Regions from separate parts of the Homo sapiens genome. Here all the other regions are linked to region 1. Evidence: promoter capture Hi-C in human tissues and cell types (Jung and others, 2019). All regions are on one chromosome and are shown on one strand. Each heading gives the region's core, a stretch centred on a gene start or on the middle of the fragment in contact. The rest is flanking DNA. Distances are from core to core; before and after follow the strand shown. Region 1 holds the start of OR6J1 (olfactory receptor family 6 subfamily J member 1). Region 2 has its middle 160 kb from the start of TRD-AS1. Region 3 has its middle 130 kb from the start of TRD-AS1.

Region 1 (3,318 bases), core at 341-2,840:
ATCTAGCTTCTTTCACTTACTATAATATTTTCTTTATTTTTATTTTTAAATTTTTTTTAGAGACAGGGTCCTGCTCTGTCAGTGAGGCTGTAGTGCAGTGGCATGAAGATAGCTCACTGCAGCCCCAAACTCCTGGGCTCAAGTGATCCTCCTGCCTCAGCCTCCCAAGTAGCTAGGACTACAGGTGCACACCATCACACCTGGATAATTTTTTTTTTTTTTTGAGATGGAGTTTTACTCTTGTCACCCAGGCTGGAGTGCAATGGTGCAATCTCTGGTCACTGCAACCTCCGCCTCCCCGGTTCAAGCGATTCTCCAGCCTCAGCCTCCCAAGTAGCTGGGATTACAGGCGTCTGCCACCACGCCCAGCAGATTTTTGTATTTTTAGTAGAGACAGGGTTTCCCCATGTTGGCCAGGCTGGTCTCGAACTCCTGACTTCAAGTGATCCATCCACCTCGGCCTCCCAAAGTGCTGGGATTACAGGCGTGAGCCACCGTGCCTAGCCTAATTTTTTTTTTAATTAGAAAATAATTTTACTTTTTTTATTTTTTGAGACAGGGTCTCACTCTGTCACCCAGGCTGGAGTGCAGTGGTGCAATCATAACTCACTACATCCTCGACCTCCCAGGCTCAAGTGATCCTCCCACCTCAGACTCCCAAGTAACTGGGACTACAGGCACACACCACCATGCCCGGCCAATTTTTGTATTTTTTGTAGTGATAGGGGTTTTGCCATATTGCCCAGGCTGGTCTCGAACTCCTGGGCTCAAGCGATCTTCCTGTCTTAGCATCCCAAAGTGCTGAGATTACAGGTGCAGGCCACTTACTATAATATTTGTAAAGGTTCATCTATGTTATAGCATGGATCATTGCCAAGGATCTTAAAGAACCAATGTAGCAGGAGAAAAGGCCACAGCCCCAAGAAGAAGCCCTGACCCCTGGCATGGCAGAAACACACACACACACACACACACACACACACACACACACACACACACACACAGAGAGAGAGAGAGAGAGAGAGAGAGAGAGAGAGACAGCAGTTACTAAATGTAGATATATGCACAGTCTGTAAAATCTAGAAGAATAGTATGGAGGATGAATTTGGACTTGGTCACCAAATCTGGAAATGGTAGGATGAGGGATCAAGACTTAATTCATTTAACTCTCAAAATACATCTTTGCATAAGGTGCAACTGCACCCACTGGAAAATCATTTCCTCACATCAGAAATATTAAGAAGCTTAATGAAGGCAAAGATACACACCTGAGATTATAACAGGAACAGCTGCTCCCAGCCAGCCCCCAAATGCCAAACGATTGGTCTGCACTCACCTCGGCTAGGGTTGCCTTATGCCACCTCCACGGCTCAGTCTGTTCACCTGGGATTTGCTGCCACCTAGGATCTTCCACGGTAATTATCTTGACCAAAAAGCCACAGTGCATTCCACATGAGAGCAGCAGTGTTTGACAGGTGAAATGAGCCCTTCCCAACTCATGTGGATTGTTGCCTTAGCTGTGACCTCTTGTCCGACGAGCATGCACTTGTGTTGTAGACAGCTGGAAGGTACATGTTGGATTTTTACACTGCTGAGGAAGTTACAAGGTATGACATCCATTCCAGCATAGAGAGGTCTACAAATCCTCTTGCCCTAATCCTGAGTGTGTGAGGAAATCACCTTCGGTTAAGCATTGACCAGCTGCACCTCCCACACTGTCTACACAATCTGATCCAGTTGGGGAGAGAAAAGGGGCACTCTCCACTAAGCTCCTGGATGGTGCTTTATTCTCCTCTCCTGCTACCATCTTTCCTGCACCCTCTCCAGTCTTCTGCTCAGCCCAGTCTTCTGGGTGCTTCTTGATTCCAGAGAAAATGGGAAAAGAAACACTGTGTTACCTGATGGACAACAGCCATCAACCTGCTTCTTCCTCTGTCCCCTCAACCCAACGTGCACTACCACCACCACCATCCCCATCATATTTTTTTCAGAGACTGGCAGGCCAAGCGTCCCAAGGACTAAACTTCCTCTAGGGTTACTGCAGGATAGTCAAATCCTGTTGAGGGGTAGCTGGTGCATGAGAAAACTCTGGACTTGAAGCCAAGAGTCTGGGTTCAAGTCCCACCTGTGCCTTTTACCATTCTTGAGACTGGAAAAATTGCCTCCATTTTCATACTATCTGCAAATGAATCCTCATGTGACAAACAGCGGTAATGCTCTTTTCCTCCTCTTCCTCATGAGGTTGAGAAGCACAAAACGGAAAATAAGATAACTCATATGATAATCGATCATTGCCAAGGATCGTGAAGAACAAATGTATGATAATTCATATGATGTGTGAAATCATAAAACACCATATTGCTTTATTTTCTAGAACCCCTCCTATTCTGCAATACTGGAAAAGAACAAACCTTATCTTCCTTGTCCCTACTGAGATATTGATCATCCCACCCTAGAGGGAAGAATACTGTCCCTTCTGGCTCTGGAATACATCTCATCAGGCCCATGCTTCTGCCTTAATCAACTATTCTCCCCTTGGACAGCATATCTGGTTGGCTACAAAGTGTGAAGACAAAGGGAAGATGCTTCTCTACATGGGAATTTCGGTTGCCCAGGATTCCTGGAAATGAAGAAACTACTTCCTGTCCTCCACCATCTGCACTCTACAGAGGAGTCAGTAAGCTGGAAGGGATTCAGCGGGAGGACTCAGAAATACTCACATTTGCCTAAATAAGGTAGAGGGGGCTGGCCCCCAGCATATCCTGCCCACACAGCTGCCCCAGGCTTCCGTGCTGGGCGCTGAGGCTTGCGTTGCTGCAAACAGACTCTGCACTGTCAGGGCTGAAGGGGGCATACTCTAGAAGGGTCCCATGTTTGGACCCCACTTGGGAGGGTTGGGGTGGGATTGGCTCAGGTGAGAGCATGCACTTTCTGAGAAACCTCCAAACATGGGGCACTCCTCAGGGGCACATTACGAAGCTGTCCCTGAACACCAAGCCTGAGTCTGATGCCCCTGAGGCCCACTTAGGAAAGGATGCAAACCTAAACATCTACACTAACAAGAACTGGGAACAGAACACTAGCCAAGATCAACACCCCCAGGCCTATCTCAGAGAGCCTCACAGCATACAGTCCTCCATCCACCCCCTCTCCAGCCCCACTGTGACAGTTCCATCCATCCCTACCACTCCATTTACCCAGGACCCTCCTCTTCAACATCCTAATACACTGTGATCAATATGCCAAAGCTTCAGTAACCTTGCACTATGTGAAACAAAAGGTCCCACACTGCATAGCCTGGCACTCAAGACCCCCTAA
Region 2 (3,318 bases), core at 222-2,721, 330 kb before region 1:
ATGGTAGTCAAAAGTGTAAGTAATCCAAATGGACAAACCAGATGTGGTATCTCTATACAATGGAATATTATTCAGCCATAAAAAGGAATAAAGTACTGACACCTACTACAACATGAAGAATCTTGAAAACATTATGCTAAGTGGAAAAATCCAGACACAAAATGGCCATATTGTGTATTTCATTTATATGAAATACCAAGAATAGGCAAATCCAAAGTCAGAAAGCAGTGTGGCTGCCAGAAGCTGAAAGAAGTGGGGAGTGGGGAGGGACTACTTAATAGATGTGTGGGGTTTCTTTTGGGGAAAATATTCTGAACTAGATAGTGGTGATGGTTGCGCAACATTGTGAATACACTAAAAGCTACCATATTATATACTCTAAAGTGATTAAAAGTATGAATTTTATGTTGTGTGACTTTTACCTCAATAAAAAAGAAGACAACCAAAAAATCTAAATGTGATTCTTAATGGGACAAGAAGCTCTAAAAAAATTAAATTCTTACTATTCCATTGCAAACAATTCCAATAAGTATGTGAAATATGGAGCCATCTGATAAAACCTATAGCAGTACGGGAAGGTATACTAACTCAGCTTTTAACTAAAAATTATACAAATGTTGACTGACACAAAGGCAAAGGAGAATAGCAAAGATGGCATGAGCCTTTAAGGAAATCGTTAAAAAGTGGAAACCTTTTAATGAATGCAGTTAAGGCTTAAAGAAAATGTGAAGTGGAACATAAAAAGCGTTTTAGAACAGTTTGGAGAAATGAAGAGGGTGGGGTGGGGAGGAAGGTTAATTTACATATCGAGGAAAACAGAATAATTTTGGTAGAGAATAAAGAAGAGGTAGGGCACTTCGACCCCTGGTTTCATCCTCTATTCTTCATCAAATACAATAATTTTGGGCCGGGCGCAGTGGCTCATCCCTGTAATCCTAGCACTTTGAGAGGCTGAGGCAGGCATATCACCCGAGGTCAGGAGTTCGAGACCAGCCTGGCCAACATGGCAAAAACCCCATCTCTACTAAAAATACACAAATTAGCTGGGGGTGGCAGTGGGCACCTGTAATCCCAGCTACTCTGGAGGCTGAGGCAGGAGAATTGCTTGAACCTGGGAGGCGGAGGTTGCAGTGAGCCAAGATCATGCCATTGTACTCCAGCCTGGGCAACAAGAGCAAAACTCCATCTCAAAAAAAAAAAAAAAAGAAAAGAATAATTTTCAAACTGGAAATGAAGAAATGAAAAATTATGACAGATAAAAAGATACTAAGAGAGAACTTAGATGCTTTGAAAATGATCAATTCTTCTGGGTCTTTTAAACTAATCCCCAACATACAAAAAGAATTTGCAGGCATGGTTGGCAAGGCATTGGGAGAATTTTTTGAAAACCTATCAGGAATGAAGGAAATCCCCAACTCAGGAACACAGAAATAGTGGATCGATACCCAGCAAAATTCTAGAGCAGATTATTAACAGATAATGTGTGGGCTCTTAGAAAATAATGCAGTGATCAGTACCAAGCCAGAATGAGCTCACTAAAGACATTTTTAAAACAAGTCCTAAATTCAAAGGACTTCCGTGGACTTCAAACGTGTCAAATATTTGCAAGATATTTAATAATTTGTTTTTCACTATATCAATGGGAAAAATATATATATATTATCATTTGTTGAGTGTTGTGTTTATCACAGGCCCTGTTGTACTACATATGTAATAAGAACTAACATTTATTTATCAAGGGCTTAATGTGCATGAAGTGTTGTTCTAAATGCTTTGCATACATTAATTCACTTAATCTTCACTACAACCTCATGAAGTAGGTGCAATCCTTATTATAGATAAGGAAACTATCTTTAATACAGAAGAATTAACTAACTTGCCCAAGAACACAGAGTTAGTAAGGGAAGACCTGGCATACAAATACAGTTTGACAAGCCCAAAGCCTGCATTCTTAAATTCTATACTTTGTTACCTCCCAATGTTATCTGTAATCCCCACCACAAAACTATAATTTTGGTATTGTTACACCCATTTTATGAATAAGGAGACTGAGGATTGGAGTATTGAATAGAAAAATCCAGTAGAATCTAGTAAGTAGTAAGACTAAGGCTCAAACCTAAGTTCATTTGGATCTAGACTGTATCCTCTATTCACTTTGTCATTCTGCGTAATGCTAGACTTGGTGAATTCTCAGCTGAAAGAACGGCCATGTATAAATATACAATTTAGAAAAATGTCCCTATTGTTACACCTCATGATTTTATCCTTCACTTTGACCTGTTCACATTGATCTTATGTAAATTCACACAAGGTATGCCCATTAAATGTACAAATAGCAAATTTTGAGATCGGTATATGATGATCATGTCCTAATGATCTCCAGCTAATATGTTTATTTACAGCATAAATTAAAGATTGAAAATCATCTGAACAAACTGGAAAGATAGACTGAAACTGTCAAAATAGAATTTAATGGAGATAACTATATATTTATACAGTAGTTTTATAAAAATGAGTTGTAATGTCTGGAAGAAGGGATCCTGAATTTTTAGTATTTGTTGTGTAACGCGCTCATAGTAATTAAGGAAAAGATTTTCTGAAAGGATATTAGAAATTCTCATAAAATCAATTTGTGCAAAATACAGCTAGGACTCACAGAAAGAAGAAAATCACCAATTGGCTATGCTTTCCGAATCTACTTTTCTCTGGATGTATGATCTGTTCTCCTCCTGGGAAACCAGATTCCACTGTAAGCCTGTCATATTCTACTCCACAATAACTTCAGTTTGAACATACCCAGCTCTGTTTGCTAAGAGATGAGTCTGGTTTGAATAGCACAGGGCTTTAAAGCTCTAGTTACACTGTCTAACTGCGGTTTCTGTACCTCTAGTTCAAATTAATGAGCGTAGTATCTTCCCAGATCCAATAAGCTATTGCCAGAAAAAGGAGGTTATTTGGTACAAGCATGACCTCTATGTCATCTCTTTAGAAAGGAATCCCAAAAGTGGAAAAGGACTACATGCTCAAAATAATTCACCAATGTGATAAAACAACTGAAACTATCATAGATAACAATAAAACAAGTGGAAACCAGATGAGTACAGTAATACTCTGACAGGGCAACAATATTTGAATCACATTTGAAGAGACGTGAACAAACTGTAGCAAGTCTAAAAATAAGAAAGATAAAACTAATAAAGTAGTCTGAAATAATACCATGTGCAGAAAGAAACAAGGATGTCACATAAAGAAACCAGAGATATTTATAAGGACACCTTTACAAAAAAGAACAGATCTGGCCTTGAGTTTTCAAAAGAT
Region 3 (3,318 bases), core at 546-3,045, 290 kb before region 1:
AGAAATTATAAAAGATAAAATTGACAGATTTGACTAAATACATCTTTAAACATGTGAATATTAAAACGCTGTAAAAAATTAAAAGACAAATAAAGTAGAAATTATCTAAAATATATATCAAAGCAAAAACTGCATTTCTATATGCCACTGGTATATAAAAATACTTCCAAATCAGTAAATACAAATTGCACACAAATAGAAAATGATAGAAGAAGCTAACAGGCATTTCACAAAAGAAGATTATAAATGACTGATAAACACATTAAAATGTCTATTACTACATAATTAAAGTAATTCTGAAACCAATAAAGTACTTTTTTCTGCATAATTCTAGGGATTTATGCTTAGGAAAGAATTTGTAATAAAGATCCACACACAAAGATATCTATCAGAATGTAGTATATAACACCACAAATCATAAATGAGTCAGGTATGGTGGCTCATGCCTGTAATCCTAGAACTTTGGGAGGCCGAGGTGGGAGGACCACTTGCAGACAGGAGCGCAAGACCTGCCTGGGCAACATAATGAGATGCTGTCTCAAAAATTTTTTAAAAAGAAACAATTTAGGGGGGCGGTTCCAAGATGGCCAAATAGGAACAGCTCCAGTCTGCAGCTCCCAGCATGAGCGATGCAGAAGACAGGTGATTTCTGCATTTCCAACTGAGGTATCGGGTTCATCTCACTGGGGCTTGTAGGACACTGGGTGCAGGACAGTGGGTGCAGCCTATCGAGCATGAGCCAAAGAAGGGCGAGGCATTGCCTCACCCAGGAAGTGCAAGGGGTCAGGGAATTCCCGTTCCTAGCCAAGGGAAGATGTGACAGATGGCACCTGGAAAATTGGGTCACTCCCACCCTAATACTGCACTTCTCCAATGGTCTCAGCAAATGGCACCCCAGGAGATTACATCCCGCACCTGGCTCAGAGGGTCCCACGCCCACGGAGCCTTGCTCATTGCTAGCACAGCAGTCTGAGATCAAACTGCAAGGCTGCAGTGAGGCTGGGGGAGGGGTGCCTGCCATTGCTGAGGCTTGAGTAGGTAAACAAAGCAGCCAGGAAGCTTGATCTGGGTGGAGCCCACCCCAGCTCAAGGAGGCCTGCCTGCCTCTGTAGACTCCACCTTGGGGGGCAGGGCATAGCAAAACAAAAGGCAGCAGAAACCTCTGCAGACTTAAATGTCCCTGTCTGACAGCTTTGAAGAGGATAGTGGTTCTCCCAGCAAGGAGTTTCAGATCCGAGAATGGACAGACTGCCTCCTCAAGTGGGTCCCTGACCCCCGAGTAGCCTAACTGGGAGGCATCCACCAGTAGGGGCAGACTGACACCTCACATGGCCGGGTACCCCTCTGAGATGAAGCTTCCAGAGGAACAAGCAGCAGCAACATTTGCTGTTCAGCAATATTCACTGTTCTGCAGCCTCCGCTGCAGATACCCAGGAAAACAGAGTATGGAATGGACCTCCAGCAAAGTCCAACAGACCTGCAGCTGAGGATCCTCACGTTAGAAGGAAAACTAACAAACAGAAAGGACGTCCACACCAAAACCCCATCTGTACATCACCATCATCAAAGACCAAAGGTAGATAAAACCACAAAGATGGGGAAAAAACAGAGTAGAAAAGCTGAAAATTCTAAAAATTGGAGGGCCTCTCCCCCTCCAAAGGAATGCAGCTCCTTGCCAGCAACAGAGCAAAGCTGGATGGAGAATGACTTTGACGAGTTGAGAGAAGAAGGTTTCAGATGATCAAACTTCTCTGAGCTAAAGGAGGAAGTGTGAACCCATTGTAAAGAAGCTAAAAACCTTGAAAAAAGATTAGATGAATGGCTAACTAGAATAACCAGTGTAGAGAAGTCCTTAAATGACCTGATGGAACTGAAAACCATAGCACGAGAACTACGTGACAAATGCACTAGCTTCAGTAGCCAATTTGATCAAGTGGAAGAAAGGGTATCAGTGATTGAAGATCATGAAGTGAAGCAAGAAGAGAAGTTTAGAGAAAAAAGAGTAAAAAGAAATGAACAAAGCCTCCAAGAAATATGGGACTATGTGAAAAGACAAAATCTACGTCTGATTGGTGTACGTGAAAGTGACAGGGAGAATGGAACCAAGTTGGAAAACACTCTGCAGGATACTATCCAGGAGAACTTCCCCAACCTAGCAAGGCAGGCCAACATTCAAATTCAGGAAATACAGAGAATGCCACAGAGATACTCCTCAAGAAGAGCAACTCCAAGACACATAATTGTCAGATTCACCAAATTGAAATGAAGGAAAAAATATTAAGGGCAGCCAGAGAGAAACGTCAGGTTACCCACAAAGGGAAGCCCATCAGACTAACAGCAGATCTCTCAGCAGCAACTCTACAAGCCAGAAGAGAGTGGGGGCCAATATTCAACATTCTTAAAGAAAGGAATTTTCAACCCAGAATTTCATATCCAGACAAACCAAGCTTCACAAGTGAAGGAGAAATAAAATCCTTTACAGACAAGCAAATGCTGAGAGATTTTGTCACCACTAGTCCTGCCCTACAAGAGCTCCTGAAGGAAGCACTAAACATGGAAAGGAACAACCAGTACCAGCCACTACAAAAACATGCCAAATCGTAAAGACCATAGATGCTAGGAAGAAACTGCATCAACTAATGAGCAAAATAACCAGCTAAGAACATAATGACAGGATCAAATTCACACAATATTAACCTTAAATGTAAATGGACTAAATGCTCAAATTAAAAGACACAGACTGTATTCAGGAGACCCATGTCACGTGCAGAGACACACATAGGCTCAAAATAAAGGAATGGAGGAAGATCTACCAAGCAAATGGAAAACAAAAAAAGGCAGGGGTTGCAATCCTAGTCTCTGATAAAACAGACTTTAAACCAACAAAGATCAAAAGAGACAAAGAAGGCCATTACATAATGGTAAAGGGATCAATTCAACAAGAAGAGCTAACTATCCTAAATATATATGCACCCAATACAGGAGCAGCCAGATTCATAAAGCAAGTCCTTAGAGACCTACAAAGAGACTTGGATTCCCACCCAATAATAATGGGAGACTTTAACACCCCACTGTCAACATTAGACTGATCAATGAGACAGAAAGTTAACAAGGATATCCAGGAATTGAACTCAGCTCTGCACCAAGTGGACCTAATAGACATCTACAGAACTCTCCACCCCAAATCAACAGAATATACATTCTTCTCAGCAACACATTGCACTTATTCCAAAATTGACCACATAGTTGGAAGTAAAGCACTCCTCAGCAAATGTAAAAGAACAGAAATTATAGCAAACTGTCTCTTAGACCACAGTG

What was found. The method cuts DNA at HindIII sites, captures the fragments that hold promoters and counts their contacts. A contact is called where the count stands out against the background at its distance.
Region 2: a fragment that was not itself captured here is called in contact with the fragment with the promoter of OR6J1 in region 1 in 1 of the 25 tissues and cell types used here (lymphoblastoid cells).
Region 3: a fragment that was not itself captured here is called in contact with the fragment with the promoter of OR6J1 in region 1 in 2 of the 25 tissues and cell types used here (adrenal gland and lymphoblastoid cells).

What each region holds. Positions count from the first base shown.
Region 1 is chr14:22,642,762-22,646,079 of GRCh38, forward strand. It overlaps OR6J1 (olfactory receptor family 6 subfamily J member 1), which reads right to left and starts at 1,591. Exons shown (of 2, transcript NM_001348233.2): 1 at 1,337-1,591. The HindIII fragment of the contact is 14,040 bases long and covers 1-2,246 here.
Region 2 is chr14:22,316,344-22,319,661 of GRCh38, forward strand. It overlaps TRA. Among named protein-coding and RNA genes, the nearest start is that of TRD-AS1, 160 kb to the right of the region's middle. The HindIII fragment of the contact is 9,832 bases long and covers 1-3,318 here.
Region 3 is chr14:22,348,354-22,351,671 of GRCh38, forward strand. It overlaps TRA. Among named protein-coding and RNA genes, the nearest start is that of TRD-AS1, 130 kb to the right of the region's middle. The HindIII fragment of the contact is 3,160 bases long and covers 216-3,318 here.